2 separate regions of the Homo sapiens genome follow, and region 1 is linked to region 2. Evidence: promoter capture Hi-C in human tissues and cell types (Jung and others, 2019). All regions are on one chromosome and are shown on one strand. The core of a region is centred on a gene start or on the middle of the fragment in contact, and the rest is flanking DNA. Distances in the headings are between cores, read along the strand shown.

Region 1 (5,474 bases), core at 2,911-5,410, 34 kb before region 2:
TAAACTTTGATTGATAGATTGACTTATATAGTTCATAAACATTATTATGCCAGTACTAGTCTCAGGATATTTAGATGTAAAGGATTCTCATGCCTCAGCCACCCAAGTAGCTGAGATTACAGGCATGCACCACTACACCCTGCTAATTTTTATATTTTTAATAGAAACGGGGTTTTTCCATGTTAGCCAGGTTGGTCTCAAACTCTTGGCCTCAAGTGATCCTCCCGCTTTGGCCTCCCAAAGTGCTGGGATTACAGGCATGAGCCACCATGCTCAGCCAAGTTTATTTTTCTGTTATATCTTACATTTTCACTGATGTGGAATAAGAATGCTAATATCATGACTACTGGAATAATAGTAATTTTTGTTAATAACTTTAATTTTGCAGTGTATGGAAATTCTCAGTTAATTTGTTAATAACCAGTTCATGTCTCTGGAATAAGTAATTGAGCATTTCAACAAAGCAACCAGCCTCCTATAATGCCATTACTAGAATTGCAGACAATTTTTAGAGATACAGACATTATGCTATAAAAGTACAAATGTAAATTAAATGACAAAGGCTTACATTTTGAAAGGAAAGCATTATATTTGGGCTTTAGCGCAGATTAATGTGAATGAATTCTATTAAGCTATGCTACACTATAATTCTGAATGTGAATTGATTTTACTTAAAAAAATAAGTGTACTTGATTCTTTTTTAAAGAGGGAAGGTATTTATTTTTATTAAAATGTAAACTAATGCTAATTAACAAAATGTTTAATTTCATTGGTATATTTTGTTATTATTTTGTAAAGTAGAAAATGTTTATTCCCCTTACTTTCAGAACTGGTACTAATTCCAAAAAAATAAACTATTCTGTTTTAGCTCATATTTTTTTAAGAACCAATAAGAAAGTGATCTTTAGGCTGACAATTCTCAAAAAAAATTGTGAGATATCATCTGTGCTCAGGTATCTTTGTAAAATAAAATGCAAAGATGAGACCCTTTTTTGGTATTATTCAATTTTTATACATGTTAAAATGAATTACTTTTCAATATGATGTTTATGAGAAGAAAAAAGCATGCCTTCTTTTTTTCTGTTTGCATTTCAGCACCACCACCTCCACCACCATCAAGGGGAGGGCCACCTCCTCCTCCTCCCCCTCCACACAACTCAGGTCCTCCTCCTCCTCCTGCTAGGGGAAGAGGCGCTCCTCCCCCACCACCTTCAAGAGCTCCCACAGCTGCACCTCCACCACCGCCTCCTTCCAGGCCAAGTGTAGCAGTCCCTCCACCACCGCCAAATAGGATGTACCCTCCTCCACCTCCAGCCCTTCCCTCCTCAGCACCTTCAGGGCCTCCACCACCACCTCCATCTGTGTTGGGGGTAGGGCCAGTGGCACCACCCCCACCGCCTCCACCTCCACCTCCTCCTGGGCCACCGCCCCCGCCTGGCCTGCCTTCTGATGGGGACCATCAGGTTCCAACTACTGCAGGAAACAAAGCAGCTCTTTTAGATCAAATTAGAGAGGGTGCTCAGCTAAAAAAAGTGGAGCAGAACAGTCGGCCAGTGTCCTGCTCTGGACGAGATGCACTGTTAGACCAGATACGACAGGGTATCCAACTAAAATCTGTAAGTAAGCTTTTTTTTTTTTCATTTTAGATCCTTTATCATAATGGAATTTTAAAGTAATTTATTGAAAGATATTTTTGAAAAGTGTATTCTTTTTTCCTCTTGCTAATTCATTCTTAACCCTATAAATTTAAAAATACTTTTACATGCAGTGACATGCACAAATTTTTAATTCAGCTTTGATACATCTCTATAGCCATGTAACCCATATCTCTATATCCAAATGTAGGGTATTTCTGTCACCCCAGAAGGTTTTCTCATACCTCTTCCCAGTTAATTTTTCCATAAACAATCACTGATCTAATCACCATAGATTAGTTTTACCTATTCTAGAACTTCATGTGAATGGAATTTTACAGGATGTTTGCAATTCATTGTTCTAGACTTTACTTTCAAATAAAAGGTACTTTAAAGAAAAATCCTTATTAAGCTGTGAGAATTAAAAATAGCCCTACTTGAAACCAATTGTGATCACCTTAGGAAATCTAAACCAGTAGCTTTATGAAAATTAAATCATGTTCCAAAGTTTTCATGTTCTAAAATTTAGATTAGTAGAGAATCAGACCAAAAAAATTGAAAGAGTTGTAATAGAATTTCTGACAGTGATGGCAAATAAATTTAGGATTATCTGATTTGGATGAGGTAATCATTTAATCTTACAGGTCATTTAATCTTCTAGAGTTCAGCAAACATTTTCCTATAAAGGATCAGGTAGTAAAACCTTGGGCTTATATAGGCAGTATGGCCTCTTGTGACCACTCAGCTCTGCTGTTTTACCGCAGAAGCACCACAGACAATACATAAATGAATGGACATGCTTGTGTTCTATAAAACTATATTTGGACACTGAAATTTGAATTTTATATAACTTTCACATATCAAAAATACTCTTATTTTCTTTCAGCCATTTAAAAATGTAAAAATCAAGCTTAATTTTTAGATAGTTTTAAAAAAAAATCCAAGAACAGGCTGGATTTGGCCCATGGGCTCAAGTTTGCTGACTCCTATCCTAGAACCTAACCTGTCTACATTTACATACTTCTTTTGGAGCCTTTTATAACATGTTCTCCAGGACTTCAGGGAGGTCATGGATGATAGAGTTTTTCTGTGAAGTAAATGGAGACGACAGAGGATGTTTTAATTGAAAATTATTTCCCAGTATAGGAATTAAAGTAACTTTCTAGATCTCAGAAACTTTGTCTAAAAGGAGGGTAATAGATAGGAAGCACAACTAATTGAATGAAAACATGTAAACATTAGCATAGATCTAAGAAGACTCTGATCTTTAAAATATATCTAGCTCTTTTCTTTACATGTATTCAGGATGACACTTAAACCTATGAACAGTCATCTCTGTTCTCTTTCCCCCTTTAGATCAGACTAAAGGCCTGTCAAGAGCAGTTGAAGAACTTTAAAGAGTGGTTAGTGGGGAGAATTAATGTCAAAATGACCACAGCCCAGCTTTTACCTTGGAATCTCTGCTAGTTCCTGTGTCATTCTCATTCCCGTAACTCTCACTCCTAACCCACCTTTTTGTTTTCCTTTTCTATTTCCTTTTCACAAACCAACTTTGTTTCTTTCTCTCATTTAGCTATAATAAGGTGATTTAAAATTTTTAACGAATAAAGTTGTATCCTCATTTATTTTAAAAAGTTTAAGAGTTAAATTTCTATTTACTTTCTCCATAACTTTCTCCCATCCCAACTCTCCCTTTCTTTCCAAAAAAAAAAAAAGAAGCAGCAAAACCTGTTAATTGATGTGTAAGAATGGGGGCCATTTTTATCCTAAATAATCACTTTCCTTTTGATTGCATTTATTGCAATCATAGGGTGCATAATCAGTGAACTATTGGCATGTTATACATGTAATCCGAGTTCGTTATTTTTTGAAAAAGACCATTTTGTGGTTGAAATTTCTATGGCTATGTTTCTTTAAATTTTTTGAGTAAATCATCAATTTATTCTGTGATGAATATGATTAACATAAAACCATAGACTTACTTTAAAGAGCTAGTAGGAGGTATTGAATACTCACATATATTTTTGAATTCCATGGTTTTAGTACCTCAAATAGTACTTTGTTCAAGTAAGCACTTCAAAAAATGTGTTTGATGAGAGTATGCTCACTTCTGCTTTGTGCTCTCTGCTTTACATTATCACATTGCTTAAAGGTAGTCTAAATGTCCCTACCGCTGTTGTACCTCCTTGAGAGCCTTGTGCAGAAATACAAAGCTCTGAAACTCTCTGTTATCTTTTTTCATTTGTGGTACTTCTATACTGGAAATAGTTAATACATAATGTTTAAAGCCAAAATACTAAGGAATGAATCTATATCTTAGGGGGAACCACTTTGAATTTTTTTAAAAAAGGTGTTTACTCCAGAAAGAACAAGGAGTATTAGAGGAAGAATTGTACAGATCAAAATGGAAAGTTTGTCTAAATAAAATTGTCTTTGGGAAATGATTAAGAATTTCAAAAATATATATTATATATGTATGTATTAAAACATAGGTAATTATTTAATACAGCTATGCTGTTTCATCTTTAATTATAATTTTTTTTTTCATGAATGCACTTTGGCACAGCTGGAAGTACTTCAGTTAGGGATTGTTACTTGCCTAGTGAGGCAGGTACATTTTGAAAGTTGATCAACTCATCTCCTTAAAAAGAAATTATATACTATGAGAAAAGAGGTTCATTTTGAAGGTATAAATGTAACATAAAGGTGTAAAGCTGAATTTTTGTAGGCAAATATAAGTTTCTACAGTTGTTTTTCAATATCTTCAGTGTGCGTCCCACGTAACAACTCTGGAGTCTAAGTATTAACCTCTGTTTATAACATGAAATCCCTTGATAAAAGCTTTAAAGTTGATCATCTAAGTCTGTGTGTGCTGGAATAAACAGAAGTAACCCAGCAAGTATTATTCAGGAGAGGGTTTGTTATCTGAATGTAAACATAGATTTGGAAATGTATTTTTGGCTTATACATTAAGATGGAAAGGAAATATTTTTGAATAATATCTTTAAGGCAGCAGTTTATTTCTTGTTAATTTGATTAATCTTGTCCTGCGCTTGCCAGTTTGATATCTTTTTTGTCTTTTACAATAAGAAGTGATTCTAAGAAAGTAGGACTTTCTGGAGACAAAGATTCTTGGCTAAAGATTTATTACTGAGTTTTGCTAACTTTCTTTTCCAAGGTGGCTGATGGCCAAGAGTCTACACCACCAACACCTGCACCCACTTCAGGAATTGTGGGTGCATTAATGGAAGTGATGCAGAAAAGGAGCAAAGCCATTCATTCTTCAGGTAGAGAGAGAGAGAGAGAGAGAGAGAGAGAGAGACAGAGAGAGTGTGCGTGTGTGTTTAATAAATTTGAATGTTTGACGTTCTGTTATTTTTATGACTGTCTTTGCTAGCTTTCTCTCTGCTAATTGAGTAACTACTGATGTGGGCTCTAGGATGTATTTTAAAAAGTTGTTGCCTGTGTGACTAGTCTCTCTGAGACTTAACAAATGCAACACCACCACAGCCATAGCCATAAATTGAAAGAACAGCTTTGGGAATATTGACAGTTTTGTTTCCTATATCAGGAAATGCTAATAGACTTCCTAGCAAACAACCTCTAAACAAAGCTTGAGATTTTTAGATCTCATTCCTGTGACATTACTGTGACATGAAAAATTCAGGGCTGGGTGCGGTGACTCACACCTGTAATCCCAGCACTTTGGGAGGCCGAGGCGGGTGGATCACCTGAGGTCGGGAGTTCGAGACCAGCCTGGCCTACATGGAGAAACTCCATCTCTACTAAAAATACAAAAAAGTTAGCCGGCGTGGTGGCGCATGCCTGTAATTCCAGCTA
Region 2 (5,522 bases), core at 1,098-3,597:
AGCAGCCTCTCTAATTGAGCTGATAAGCCATTGGCAGGGATCAGCAAAACCTTTGGCAGGATCAGGTGGGTTCGTCCGGCTGACGATAGGTTTTGCTCTTTGGTTCCCACCACTATCATGTCATTGTGACATTAAAAAGCCTTTGTTGGATTATTGATACATTGGTTGTACAGCCTGGATATTCTGAGACAGTTTTATTCTTTTTTTTTTTTTTTTTTTTTAATGAGACAAGGTTTTGGTTTGTGGCTCAGGCTGAGTGCAGTGGCACAACCATAGCTCACTGCAGCCTCAACCTCCCATGCTGAAGCCAACCTCCCACCTCAGCCTCCTGAGCAGCTGGGACTACCACCTGCTAATGTTCCACTAAACCCAGCTAATTTTTTTTTTTTTTTTTTTTTTTTGTAGAGATGAGATCTCACTATATTGCCAGAGCTGGATTTGAACTCCTAGGCTCAAGTGATTCTCCTGCCTCAGCCTCCCAAAAAAGTGTGGGAATTATAGGCGTGAGCCAGCATACCCAGCCAGTTTTATTTTATTAAAGAGAGTTTTAAATAATTGTGATGATAATGTCATTGTTATTTTGATGCTCATTATCACATCAAAGAAAAAAAAATCCCTCTTAAAACAATGGTTGTGGAGGAATTGACCTGCCCAAGTACTGACTTGTATGTGTCCTTCCTTCTAACACACCCCTTCTAGCTGATTAGTACTGTGGCCTTGGCAGACCCTGGCCAGATCCCAGTGGCCCTTCCTGCAATGATTGACGTGGACAAAACTCACACATATCTTGCTGCAATTGTGGCCAAGATAACCCTATCATCAAGATCATCTAACAGCCCTAGATTAGTACTGTGGAAGTCTTGCCATTGGCTTTAGGCCATTTTGATTTTAGATGATTCCAACAGAGTGCAAGGGTTTTAAACTGTTTCTCCTGACCTATGTTCTTCCATAATTCCGGAAGAATTTTTTTTTTGTTATATGGACACTTTATTGTCATTACTGTTTTCCCAGAGAATAATAGTCTTTTGGACTTCCTTCTGGTATTGACTCATTTGGCAAATTCAAAATAACTGTTTACTGGGCAGTACACAAGAGCTTTATAGGCCTGAGCTCTGATATAAGCACATTTCCTAACCTCAGGATCACCATCGTAAAGGAGACAGAAATCGAAGAGATCATCTATACAGCTGTGCTGCCCCTGAGTCCTCAGATGGGTTTCAGGATGTGTTATCATTTTGAAATTCTATGCAAAAGTTGGTGTATTTTGCACAAGCCCAGGGCTATTTTCTTAAGAAGGTTCATAACTTATCAAAATCTCAAAGGGGTTCTTGATTCGCAAAAGAAACACTGTCTCTAACTCCCTCAATGTCCAGAGGGAAAGAGAACCCTGTAAAAGTGATTGTTCAAGGTCTAAAGATGTGGGAACAGAGCAGGGACTCATAACAAGGCCCTGTGACTCTCAGTGTCATGTACTTCCCACCACCCCACACTTCTTGGTATTGGAAAAGAACTATTTCACCATAGCTACTATCACAGTCAAAGCAACCAGCGTTCCCACTTTTGTCTTTATAGGAGAAAATAAATGTACTTAACTGAAAAAAAAGTATACATTTATACGTATGCATGTATCTTGGGAACAAATATTATGCCACATTACCAACATATAGCTCAAACAACACTTATGTTTGGCAAAATATTGAATCCCATACACTGATTGTGAATTATTTTCCTCTTGAGCTTTCTATTTGTAATCAATCAAAGAGCCCCAATTAAGAATTTTACATATTATGATCCATTGGGTGGCCATAGCATTTACATGATTATTTCAGCCTGAAAAATGATTTAGTAGCAAGTATAAATGGGTTATAGGAAAATTCAAGTGATGAGGATTGAGAAGTTAGGGAAAACAAGTGTCTGGGTTTGGGATGGGGTGATGGGGAGGTGGGGTTAGCCAAGGAAAAGTCCCGAGAGCCTACCTTTCCACATTCCCCCAGCCTCTCCTTCTCCAAGAGTTTTTGGGACTCCTTTTCCCAATAGGCCATCAGTGCCTCTCTGCTGAATGTCCCTGTGGGGGTTTTCTCTGTCAGGCTCTTTTGCCTTAGCCCCACGGGAAGGTTGCGGTCAGGTTCAATGTCTTCCAACTCTCTCTCTAGCTCCTTCAGCTCCTCGGCTGACAGGGAGGCGAGGAGTTCATCCTCGTCGATGGATTCGTATTTACTGAGTCCTCTTCGGTAGCCAAAGGTAGACATGGTCCCTGCTTTGTCAGACCCAGAAGGAGCTTGAAGGACCAGGCATTCAAGGCGGCCAGAAGCAGGCAGGGAGGCAAGTGGCAGGCTGGTCAACAACTGGTGCTAGGAGTGGCTGTGGGAGCCTTTTAAGAGTGGTGATACAGGGCTGTGACAATGCAGAGAGGGGTGAAGGCATGGGCTGTTTTAAGCATCAGACGTCAGCTAGACATTTGAACACAAAGAATGTCACATCGGTGGTGGATGGAGGTCTCAGAACCAGTGGGGATTATTAACATACTGGCCAGGGCCATATTTAGCTGAGTCTGATAGCTCATGAGGACAGGCAGAGTGTTTCAGATAAGGAGTAACACAGTTCTTCTCACTTTGTATTCAAACAACAGGGAAATAAAATTTATTTTGAAAATGACTTGCCACCACCTCCATGGCCATGAAAAGATTCTTTCATTATAATCTTAGGGTTGAGAAATGTCTCCACAATACTCCATGGGTAGTTATTTTGGTTCTTCTATAAACATACTGTAGGTGGTATTGATGGGGACAAAAGGTCATAATAATATAGTATTTCATAATTTTATCCTACTTTGCAGTTTACAAAGCACTTCAATAAGTTTTTCTAATCATAAATACTGTGAGATGAATAACATGATTCTCATTTATAGATGTTGGCAACTGAGGCTCTCAGAGATTAAGTGAAACGTCAGAAGTTGGAGAGCTGAAAGTACAGAGAGGTGTCTTTCTCCACTGAACGAAATGCTTCTTCCTACTCACCATGATTACTAGTAAAAATCTAGACTTGCAAATGAAACTCGAAAAATACAAATAATAATACTGGATATGATTTATTAAGGACTGACATTATGCCATTCCAGTGTTAAGCATTATCTCCTTTAATTCTACAGTCCTGTAAGGTGTACATTAGTGCCTGTACTTAACTAGTACACACTCAGAGAGGTTAAGTTACTAGCATGGGAGCACAGAGCTAAGAAGTGAGAGAGCTAGAATCTGAGCCCAGATTTGTATCTGGCCTGAAAATGGAAGAGATGCTAATTTGAAATTATATATATGACTTAATCACTACATATTATATATATACAACAAATTTTCTTATGTACTCCATACATTTGCACAAATTAAAAAAAGAAATTATATATGAGCATATTGTTGTGTATATGTTAAAATAAATCCATAGTTTATAGGACTCCATAAATATAACACCATTTTATAGATATGTAAAATCTATTAAAAATATTAATGCATACAAAAATACATTTATCAATACATGTATAGTACATGATATTCTGATTATACCTTCAGCAGCTGGTGAATATTTGGGTTGTTTCTAGCTTTGGGTTTCTACCTTTTATCTATGAATAAAGTTTCTATGAACATTTACATGCAAGTGTTTGAGTAACCTCAGGTTTTCATTTATTTTGAGTAGATATGTAGGAGCAGAATTACTGGGTTATATGGTAAATTTACTTTTTAAGAAACTGTAAAAAACTGTTTTCCGAAACGGCTGTACCAATTTACATTCCCATCAGCAATGAATGAGAGTTCCGGTTTCTCGACATCCTCACCTATTATTGCTTGTCTTTCTATTATAGTCATTTTAGAGGGTGTCAAATGATAGTTTTAATTTTCATTTCCCTAGTAAGATGTTCATCATTTCATGTGTTTATTGGCCACCTTATATCTTCTTTGGTGAAATATTTATTCAAATCTTACCTCCCCCTTTTTTAAACAACTTTTTGAGACAGGGTCTTGCTCGGTCACCCAGGCTGGAGTGCAGTGGAGTGATCATAGCTCACTGCAGCCTCAATCTCTTGCTTATGCCCATTTTAAAATTGGGTTAATTGTCTCCTTATTATTGAGTTGTAAGAATCTTTATATGTGCTGGAGACAAATATTTTATTAGGTATATGACTTTTTTTTTCTATTCTGGGGCTTGTCTTTTGATTCATTTTGAAGAGCAAACTTTTTAAATTTTGGTGAAGTCCAAGACCAATTTATCAATTTTTTTGTTGTATTGCTTGGTGTTATAGTTAAGAAATCTTTTTCTGGCCATGCACGGTGGCTCACGCCTGTAATTCCAACACTTTGGAAGGCTGAGGTGGGCAGATCACTTGAGCCCAGGAGTTTGAGACCAGCCTGGCCAACATGGCAAAACCCTGTCTCTAGTAAACATACAAAAATTAGCTGAGCATGGTGACAGATGCCTATAAACCCAGCTACTTAGGAGGCTGAGGTGGGATAATGGTTTGAACCCAGGAAGCCGAGGCTGCAGTGAGCCAAGATGGCACCACTGCCCTCCAGCCTGGGTGACAGCGAGACTCTGTCTCATTAAAAAAAAAAGAAAATTTTTTTCCAACCCAAGGCCACAGAGATTTACTCATATTTTATTGTGAAAGTTGTATAGTTTTAGTTTTATTTAGATTTCCTACCCATTTTGACTTATTTATGTGTATATGTAAGGTAAAGTTATATATTCATCTTTTTTATTTTTATTTTTTTTAGGCGGAGTCTGACTCTGTTGCCCAGGCTGGAGTGTAATGGCACCATCATAGCTCACTGTAGCCTCTTATCTTTTGGGCTTGGGTGATCCTCCCACCTCGGCCTTCGGAGTAGCTGGGACTAGAGACAGCAAGCAACCACGCCCAGTTAATCTTTTTTTTTTTTATTTTTTGTAGGGACACTGTTTTGCCATGTTGCCCAGGTGGTTGGTTTCAAACTCATGGACTCAAATGCTGCCCCCACCGTGGCCTCCCAAAGTGCTGGGACTGCAGGCGTGAGTGACAACACTTGGCCCAAATTTATCTTTTTGCACACAGATATTCAATTGTCCTAGCACCATTTGTTGAAAAAAACTATACTTTCCTCTATTGAATTACCTTGGAACCTTTGTGGAAAATTAACTGACCGTAAATACATGGGTTTATTTCTAGACAGTCAAGTCTGTTCTATAAATCTATATATCTATCCTTATGCAAAATCACATGGTCTTAATTATTGTAGCTTTATAATAAGTTTTGAAATCAGAATGTGTATAAGTCTATCTGACTTTGCTCTCTTGTGAGAATGTTTTGGCTAGCTATTTTGATCTTAACTTGTTATGATATTCTACTCCAAAAATAACTGACACTTTTCAGTGATGCTAATGAGAGAGATAATGATTGAATTAGAAATAATGAGTTCATTTGTGTGTTTTTTTTGTTTTTTGTTTTTGTTTTTTTGTTTTTTTGTTTTTTTTTTTACAGCCTGTAGCATATGCTTTTG

Evidence for each region. The method cuts DNA at HindIII sites, captures the fragments that hold promoters and counts their contacts. A contact is called where the count stands out against the background at its distance.
Region 1: a contact is called between a fragment that was not itself captured here and the fragment with the promoter of LMOD2 in region 2, in 1 of the 25 tissues and cell types used here (psoas muscle).

The regions. Positions count from the first base shown.
Region 1 is chr7:123,688,489-123,693,962 of GRCh38, reverse strand. It overlaps WASL (WASP like actin nucleation promoting factor), which reads left to right. Exons shown (of 11, transcript NM_003941.4): 9 at 1,096-1,616; 10 at 4,813-4,921. Among named protein-coding and RNA genes, the nearest start is that of LMOD2, 35 kb to the right of the region's middle. RefSeq lists enhancers at 870-1,370, 1,371-1,871. The HindIII fragment of the contact is 4,150 bases long and covers 2,086-5,474 here.
Region 2 is chr7:123,652,691-123,658,212 of GRCh38, reverse strand. It overlaps LMOD2 (leiomodin 2), which reads right to left and starts at 2,347. Exons shown (of 3, transcript NM_207163.3): 1 at 1,977-2,347. The coding sequence starts at 2,249. The HindIII fragment of the contact is 15,658 bases long and covers 1-5,522 here.